Regions from separate parts of the Homo sapiens genome. Here region 2 is linked to region 1. Evidence: promoter capture Hi-C in 16 types of primary human blood cells and fetal thymus (Javierre and others, 2016). All regions are on one chromosome and are shown on one strand. The core of a region is centred on a gene start or on the middle of the fragment in contact, and the rest is flanking DNA. Distances in the headings are between cores, read along the strand shown.

What was found. Contacts are between HindIII fragments. The CHiCAGO score rates a contact against its expected background, and 5 or more counts as called.
Region 2: a fragment that was not itself captured here is called in contact with the fragment with the promoter of RNF6 in region 1 in 3 of 17 cell types (total CD8 T cells, naive CD8 T cells and naive CD4 T cells); the score reaches 7.9 in total CD8 T cells.

The regions. Positions count from the first base shown.
Region 1 is chr13:26,219,537-26,224,252 of GRCh38, forward strand. It overlaps RNF6 (ring finger protein 6), which reads right to left and starts at 2,778. Exons shown (of 5, transcript NM_005977.4): 1 at 2,467-2,778; 2 at 1,712-1,794; 3 at 1-131. The coding sequence starts at 113. RefSeq lists enhancers at 1,550-2,431, 2,432-3,313, 2,459-2,838 and a silencer at 1,959-2,008. The HindIII fragment of the contact is 7,611 bases long and covers 703-4,716 here.
Region 2 is chr13:26,485,342-26,490,057 of GRCh38, forward strand. No RefSeq gene overlaps it. Among named protein-coding and RNA genes, the nearest start is that of WASF3, 70 kb to the right of the region's middle. RefSeq lists an enhancer at 171-682. The HindIII fragment of the contact is 735 bases long and covers 1,626-2,360 here.

The DNA.
Region 1 (4,716 bases), core at 1,528-4,027:
TCTTCTCTGTGGAGACGCTCTTGCTGCCATCTTCTCTCATTTTCATGATGATTATGGTCTTGAGGTAAGGTTTCTTCACTGCCACCATCTGATCTCGATCTAGACTGATTCATCCTGAGATTCCTGGCTTTCTGTTCAAACAATATAAACAACATTCAAGGTGTTAAGTCATGGACCACATTTGGCTTTGTATTTTTAACTTGCAGTTTTTCTTAATTTTTAAATGTTGTCCCCTACCCAAATACTGTATTTGCCAAATCTTGCAGTGAGAAGCTTACATATAAAATGAAAAACAGCTTCTAGGAAATACAACACAATTGGCACTTACTTCTTTGCCTAAAGCCATTAAGTCAGACTGGATTTGGGTTTACCACACAATGCTCATGCCTGAATACCATAGTGATTATCTCATTTTTGACCATGTTGACGATCTGGAAAAGTTGATCCAGAAGTCCTCATTTATGTTTCAGGATCTGGGTACTTCACATTAATTACAAATTTTAGGCTTGAATTATGCACATTCTTCACTTAATGAGCAAAGGGATACTGGGATGATATAATTTACATTTGTTTTCAGCAAGGTATTCTTTCCAAAATAAGGCTCATGAATGTAATATTATCCCCCACTGCACTTTGATGAGGTGAAAATCATTTAGCCTAATTAATATCTACTGAACAAACTGGAAGGTGGTCTCTTATTAAAGCTTACCAGGAAGACTTTGAAACCCAACAGGAAACAAGACATCATGTATGGCTCAAGGATTGTGAAAGTGCATCAGAGCACTTTGTATCACCCCATATCAAGCCTCATCCTTAAGCCTGGAATGGTTAGTCCCAGGAGTTTCAGAATGCCAGTGAAACTTCCTGACTTTGCCTAAGAAACCACTATTTTTGGATTATATTTAAGTGTCACTCCTGAGAAGCTCACTTTTAAATTACATGGAAATCAAGAGAGAAAGATGTTTGTTTCACAAATATTTTAGAATTTCTTAAATACATCTATTCAGTAAGTCACACTAAAGCAATGGTTCTCAAACTCACTTAAGGGTATTTTTAAAAATCTAGATGCCCAAATCTCATCCCCAATCCTTGATTAGAGTTTTCCAGGGTAGGACCAGGTCTGCTGTTAAGAGCTAATTTGGGTGTTCTGCAGATGAAATAAACTATTCCTCGACAATTTCTGGCATGTCACTAAAGGGTATGAGTAATACAGCACCTGACTCAGTAGAGGCTGGAGGCTCAAATGGCTAGGCTACCAGTGAAGCAACTGTGCAACTCTGCCTCTCGAAATACACTAGGTATTTAATAAGCAAGCTGCTTTAAATATAAGGTGAAATTAGCCTACAAGTCTAAAATACTGTTGGAGTAAGCAACTATTCAATTTCACCTGTAACACTAAATTACAAATTCAAGGATTTTTTTCACTGTGGTTATTTTATTATGTCATTTTGAACAAATGACCTAGTAACATTATCCACTCAAATATGAATTAACACTACTAAAAACTCAAGATCTCTATCTTCAGATTAAGACCATAATTAGCAAAGAGCATATTTCGTAGGTACAGCAATAATAGGATTTTTGTAATAAATAATTTTACAAGTTGAAGCCTATCATAAAATCAAGTTACCCTAATATTATTTAAAACTTGAGCTTCTCCTTAAAGGTAATTTTCTTATACAGTTAATCACAATGAAAACAAAGCGAATACCTTATTTTCCTTTCAACACGCTTTTAACATATGCCATGGTATCCATCCTTCAATTGTTTGTGCCTTTTTTGAGAGCTGCCCATCTGAAGCAATAAAAGAGAGTTGAATAATTCAATAAACTGTTTCTTTAAAGGCCAGGAACGGGTGGTAGTCTCCCCACTCTGCTGCAAAGCCAAAGCAAATTCTCCAGTGGATTTTGTTAGACACATCTAGAAAATTAGATCCCCATACAATTAGGTCACGAAAACCTCCCGCAAGGCCCCTACCTTCCGCAACAAACTTAGGCCTTTCGTCCTACACTGTCACTGTTCCTGGGTTTACGCCTCCTCTCTCAAAGGCCTTCCTTCCTATCCCGTTCCCATTCGGATGTTACCAGGGTTAGGCGTCTCCGGCTTACTTCTAAACCTTGACTTTCTTGCCACCCCCGCCCTCCGTCCCGCTACTGGTTTCTTTCCCGGCCGTTGCGACGGAAGCTCGCGCCGGGGGACGATCCCCACTACGATAAATAAAGTGGGCTCAAGAGGCCCAACCAACCTCTTCCCAACCGAGCCTCAAGTAACGCTTCCCTTAGAGACCTAGATTCTCACAAGGAAGCAGGTGATAGACGGTGCATCCCAACCAATCACCAGCCAGCGGAGCGCAATAAGAAGGCAGTTAACCAATCGGAGAAGAGATGGGTGGCTCGAAGGATGGCCTGCTTTCCCCGGCGTCTCCAGGAAGTAGTGGTGGGACCCAGATCTTTCCCTCGAGCCCACCTCTCCAGGTCTTGGGCCTTCGCCCTCCTGTCCGGAGAACGTGTGCTGTGGGCGGCCGTTCTCTCGGGTGCTGGAGGCTGTGGTTGGGAGGCGGGATAGGCTTGCCGCCGCGCCTCCGGAGCCCGCTGTGCCCTCGAATTGGCCACTGAGGAGAGAAGCCGGAAGCCCGTGCTGCAGCGTGGGGTCGTCCAGCTGGAGGGGATACTCGGGAGGAAGAACGGCAGGCCCCAGCCCTTCTTTCCCGACAGCCACGCCGCCCACTTGGCGGCGGGGAGTCGCTCCGCAGCCGGCCCGGAGCTCGCCCGTGCAACTGAAAACTGCGTCCGTCGGGAGCTAGGGTGCCTGGCGTCCCGCGTTCCGCCCTCTTGCGCCGCCCTTACAGTGCCTCCTCCTCGAGGCCAAATGCCCGGCCGCTCAGCGCTCGTGGCAGCCGCGTAGTTGCAGAGACACGGTCTGCTTTCCAGGCTTGGGAAGTCCCAGCACTTAACTCTGCGCGTCGGTGTCGCTCGTTTGCCAGCCAGACTATAAAGTGCACCCAACGGTGTATGCGTCTCTTTACTTCCGGGTGTAACGTACTACCCAGCCAGGCCCTTTCCCTTGCTGTGCTTTGGAACCTGGAAATTACAAACCCTAATAAATTCTGAAGTCTGTCTGTCTGTCTATCTCTATTTGAGACAAGGTCTCATCCTGTCGCCCAGGCTAGAGCGATCGTAGCTCACTGCAGCCTCCAGCGATCCTCCCTCCTCATCCCAGTAGCTGGAACTACAGGCGCTTGCCATTAATTTCACATTTTTTCTTTTGTAGAGACGGGGGTCTCGCTATGTTGCCCAGGCTGGTTTCGTACTCGGCCTCAAGCAATCCTCTCACCTCAGCAAAATGGGATTACAGGCATGAGGCACCGCACCCCACTATATTTTGTGTTTTTTCACCTTCCCGCTAGGAAAGCAGTTTGAAACTCCCAACATTCCTCCCTCTGATTTTATTTCTGAGATGTGAGGCTTACTAAACTTACCTCACCGTTAGTTAAGATGCTGAGTAGGTCTCTGTCTAACCTGGTATAGTCCCCTTTCCTGACATCCCTACCATCTGATGACTTCATCACTGGAGAGTGCTCACAATGCCGTTACTTGTTATTCTTCCGTTTGTTCTTTCATTTCTGCATTAACTTTTGAGGAACTACCATATCCCCATTATTATGCTGGGCACCTGGATAACAAGCTACATGCAGTCCTTAGCATCAATGAGCTACCAGTGTAGTAAGGATCTATGGACAAGTGTTTAAAATAAGCATATGGATATGGATACTAAAATGGAAATATATAAAACAGCCTAGAAAGCCCTTCCAGATCTTTCTTCTGCTTACATTTACAGGCTGTTGTCTTGGCACTCCGAAACTGCTTGAAGTTCCGCCACAAGATATGGGAACTCCTAAGCAACCCCCAACTCCACTTTTACCTAATTTCCTCTGTCTCCCAAAACTCAGCTCAGTTCTCATCTTTAAGGAATTTTTCCTGATACCTCTGAAATAACACCCTTACCTCACCCTCCAGCCCGATATTTACACATAAAACTAAGCAAATGTCCCTTTTGGGGGCTCCCATACTCCCTCTATATATAAAACCCTATTTTAGCATGTATTCATGTATTTAACAAATAGTGAGTGTGACTATGTATTAGGTGCTGGTGATGACAGCCGTGAATCAGACAGTCATGTCCTCATAGAATGAAGTCCTTGCCCTCTTTTCCCATGGAAAAAGAGCCATTGAGCAAATACTTAAGATGATTTTCTGTTTTTAGGTCTTTACTACCTAGAGTCTGAACTGCTTAAGTGTGATCAAATGGTCTAATTCATTTTTGTAATCCCAGAACTTAGCACAGCACTTGGCAGAACATTCTCCTCAGCCTACTGCATAGATGAGCAGAGAAAAATGCAATCTTTTGGCAAACGGGATTAATGCACACAGTACAACGACTTCAGATATTGTGAACACACATCATAGAAAATAACAAGTAGAAATCATTTTTAATATCTGTGAATTTTGGAGAGTGCAATCAAATGCAATAATCCAAGTGCAAATACTTTTTACATGTTGAGTGGAAAAGACATATGTGTCTCTTCCTATTTTTCCTATTTCCTATTATATACCCTAAGAATAAAAAAAAAACTATTATAAAAATGTCTAAATAAAAATCCAATCAAGTGATTTACCAGGTAGGAAGTTGCAGGTTTTTGTGAGTAGAGAATCAGGT
Region 2 (4,716 bases), core at 743-3,242, 270 kb after region 1:
TTGTCAGGAACCTGTGTGGCTTTCTTACTGTTTAGTGGACAAAATGGAAGCAGCACTTAAAATCTCATGCTGGAGATTTCATCCCTCTATTGTTTGGGATACAGAGAGTCTGTGTAACACACACATATCAAGAGGGAAGCTGGGCACCAGTCAGAATTGACGACGGGCCAGAAATCAGCAGGCTGAAGAGAAAACAAATATGGCTTCAATGAAAAACAGAAAGAACTGAGAATCAGATGCGAAAGCGCTGAAACCAGCACAGTGTGCGGTACTGTGGCGGCTAAAGGGGATGGGAAACGGGTCACAGGCCTCAGGGTTTCCCCCTGTACAATGGACACACTGCTATTGCCAACTGAGTGAGCTAGCTTTTGTAAGTAGCTTGAAATATTCATACCTAAACGTTATTTCTGTCCTCTGTCATCTGTCTTTTCGCTGTTACTCTTTTCTGGAGCCCAAAAGGGCCTTTTACCTTGTTTGTGCCCCAAAACGAGGAGTGTGCAGAAACCCACATGTGATCATCCATCCTGTGCCACAGTGGGAGGGAGCAGGGGATGTCACGGGAGGGGGAGAGGCTCTCACTCCCAGCATGAGTCTCACGCGCTCTGAGGCTTGAGCCAGACTCAGGAAAGGCAGCACTTTTCAAAGGCCAGGGCCCTCAGACCTCACCAGCACTTCAGAAGGAACAGAGAGAACAGGGACCGGCTGCCCGAGGCAAGGTGGACAGTCGGCGACCTGGGCCCTGCCGAGGCCTGCTAGGGACCCTTCACCACAGTGACCTCTGCCTGAGGAGACTCCAGGAACCCCCACTGCTGGCTTCTAAAGTATTGGCATCTTATTTGCAGTGACCTTCCATGTGTGTTGCCTGCCCGGGTTAATAGCCTTAAGAGCCTTCGTTTTCTGCACTGTTTAAAAATATTTTATTAGTTTACATAGAAAGTTGCTTACTTTACTCAGCTTTCTAATTCTTTAAGATCTGAGGCCTCTAGTTTACAACTTGATCCATTTTTAACCACCTTAATTTCCTTCCTGTTGTTGTCTAGAATTTTTCCCTTAACGTTTTGTCTTCTATCTTTAAAATTTTCCTCATTCCTTTTAGTGTGACTTATAAATCATTTTAGTTTCCTGAAGCTGACACCCTTTTATCATCCACATCTTAATTTTTACTTACCTGAATACATTTATTCGTAAAAACAAATTACTACCCTTTTATATCTCCTTCTCACATTTTGTTCGTCTTAATCTCTTTACTTGTTGCTGTTCCTTTTAGTTTCTTAGTTGGGTTAATATCTGCTTTCTTTTTTGGCTCTGGCTTGTAAGAGACAGGCAAGATGTGTGTGTCCCAGACGAGAGGATGGGGAGGGAGTGCAGGCTGGGAGTGCGGGCCAGGGACAGGGATCTCTAGCTGCAGCCAACTGTGCTCTGGCTCTGCTTTACACAGCTTCCATCCTCTTAGCCACAATCTTAATCTATGAGGACCGAGGTGCTGGTGCTCCTCCCCAGCGTGGTGACTATTAACCAGGGCAGGCGGCACACTTGAATTCATTCATTTAACAGATACCTGGTGCCACTGTGGGAACAAGGTGCCTCCCTCCCTGGCTTGTTCTGGTGGTGGCCAGACAAAAGCAAGCTTCCAGAGGTGATGGGAACCAGAAAGGACATTTAATAAAATTTAATAAAACATGAGACACAGGCCAAAGAGAGATGAAGTGAATAGCAGGAGGTTAGTGGACTTAGCAGAGAAGGTGGCAGAGCCCTGATCCTGATTTCTCTCTGTCTAAAGATAGGCAGAGTCCCTTCTGCATCAGCTGATGATGCCTGGGGACAGAGAACCAGGGAAGGTCTGAGGCAGGAGGCCTCAAGGACTTTGCAAGGAGCTTTGCTCTTTGTGCTTCTATGATGAACACTCATAACCATTTATTTCCCTTTGCTCTTCTGTTGTTTGTCTGTTTGGATCCATGGGACTTCTGGAAATAAAAATTGTTGGAAAATTCCATTTAGAAAGAATGACCAGAATGGTGTTGATGTGCCACTTGTATACTAACCACTTCCCCTTGTCAGGCACGAAAACATGAAAATCACATACAAACAAGCACAAGAAAGGGTCTATGCCACCTGGAGTGATCGGACAGTGGGGAGGCCGTGGACGGCCCCTGCTTCCTCAGGATGAGAGGTGGGCCACATTCTGCCCTCTCCTCTCATGCGGAGGTCAGTGCAGCGATCCTGCAAGAACAGGAAGGGACACGAGACCACACGAGGTTGGAGCAGCCATAAAGCAGAAAACCTCTCTCTCTTTGTGAGCACGTGTTGTAGGGTGGTTAGCCTAGAGAGGTAAGCCCCAAGAGTGTCATAACTATTCAGCAAGCTTCGTGGAACGGTGAGCATCCTTGGCCATCCCAGGAGTCTCCCTCCACCTGCAGGACCTCTGGCGCCTTAGCTGGGCAGGAATGTGTTTCCGGAAGTCCACCTTCAGATCCTTGGTTGGAGCTACAAAGCCAAGCAAGGGTCTGTCTACACGATGGCCCCAATGGGCAAACAAGGCAAGATGTCCCCCAAGTGGGCAAGGCCTGCCACAACCTGGGAAGCCAGCCAGCCGCTGGAATCTAGCCCGATCCCCTTCTTCAGCAAAAAAGTCAGACAAGGCTGGCCAGGCCAGCAGGCGACTCCAGGCGTGGGCTGGGAGGGAACAGGCTTGTCAGAGGGGGAAGGTCAGAAGACAAGCAGGGAGCAGTGATGACAGGCCCCCGTAAACCGCACAGGTGGCCCAGCTCCTTCCAGGGCCCAGGACAGAACTGATGAGGGCGACGCTCCACCCGGACCTCCATGCAGTGCCTCTGGTTTGACTTTAGGAAGAGAACGAGGGCTAAGTCTCCTGTGAGGTCTCCAGGGAAGGAGGCCATATAGAGGATGCAGAGGCAGGGCCCTGAGACCTTTTCTGAAGGGACCCTGCCTCCTCTCCCTCCTTGCAAGGCCACTAGAGGGTTCTCATGGGGTGGGGTCTTCTGCAGAGGATGGGGGAGAAGTCAGGTGGGACTCTCCCTCTTGCTTCAGCATTCACACAAATACTGGACCCCGTGGCTGGCCCCTCTGGAATGCTCAGCGCCTTGGAGAAAGGGGCGCCTGCGGCATCTTCCCGTCCTAAGTCTCACCTCCTCTGGCAAGGGTGTCACACTTCCAGTGGCCTCCCAATCGCCTTTTCTCAATTGGTCCCATTACATCCACATTTAGCTTAAGCGAATTCAACTGTAGGTGCTCAAAGAAAACTTTAAACGAAAAACAATGTAAATAAAGTGTGTGATTCTGCCAGCCCTTCCCCGCAATAAGCATATGCCCCAGAGAGCGGATCTGCCAACGTTTGCATCCAATTCTGAGCCTCTCCGAGGTGCGAGCATCTCGCACACCAGTGTTTAGAGTGACAATACATCTTTTTCATACAACATGACCTCGAAATGCAAGCCAAGCCGATTGCTTCCTCTGGTGCTCAGCCACAGAGACGGCCATCTGTCCCAATGCTGCAGGAAAACTGGCTGCGTTGTGTTTACTAGAGGCTGTGTTTCAGACACCAGCCTCTGATCTCCCTGGAGAATTCTTTTCTCCCAAGGTAATTTTGGTTAGACTTGATTTTCTCCTTAATGTTGACTTGAGAATCTACCTAACTGCTGTCTGAAATGCAACTCCACTCTGGCTCTTTTCCTACTAAGCTGCGAGCTCCTTGAAAGGTGGGCCATGTCTGCTTCATGTTTCCAATCCCAGCACATGCCTGGCACACAGTAGACATGGTGCCATGGAGGAATGAAGAGGCCAGAGCCTCCCTGAGGATAGGTTCCTGGCCATTCTCACTCATTTCCCTAAGGGTGGGCAGATTGAGATCTCCGAGGATGATTTGATTCCATTTCAGATCGGGATGAAGATGATGCAGCTCCTATCTATCTCTGCTGTTTTCGCCCACGATACCTTCTCATCTTTCTTTGGAGGGTCCCTGACAATTTTCTTCTGGTGGCCACTGCTGAGCAGCTGACACACACAGGGACTGCTCCATGCTGTCAACTCTTGCTTTTCGTAAGAACTTCTCCCTGGCACATAATAGGTAAGTGCTCAATAAACACACATTGAATGTTGAGTGAACAAATGAATAGAGAAATACCTAGTCTACCAGGTAACTACTCCTTAAGCTCTTTCCCTTTGATTTTCAGGCTCTTGCTAATATACAGCCCACTCTTCCCAGGAACAGCCTTTAGTAGAGTTTCCTAAGCACAGTGTGTGAATGTTACTTCTGAATTTATTCCTTCATCTCCTGATTTGGGTTCCTCCCAGCAGGGCGAATGGTAACCCTTAGATGGCTACAATGATGACACTGTGTTTGCCTCTATTCTATACATCCCATGATGGAAATAATTGTCTCTGTAAATCTGAACACCATGGACCACGATGGCCTCTCCTCCAATTGATCTGGACCGGAGGGCTTTTTGTCCAAAGCTCTGTCTCCTGGAGATTGTTATGTTAATTTCAATAGAAACCGCTTCATCGGCATCAGGTTCAATTTCATGTGACTCAGCTGGCCACCCTTTAGTTCCCTAAACTTGGATGCCATTGGAATCACATGGGGAGACCTAACTAGGTCTCGTTCCTGAGACCTAACCTAAGAGATCCTGCTTCGATTGGTCTGTGGTAGGGCCCAGGCTTTGGTGTATTGTAAGAGCGCCCCAGGAAATTCTAACA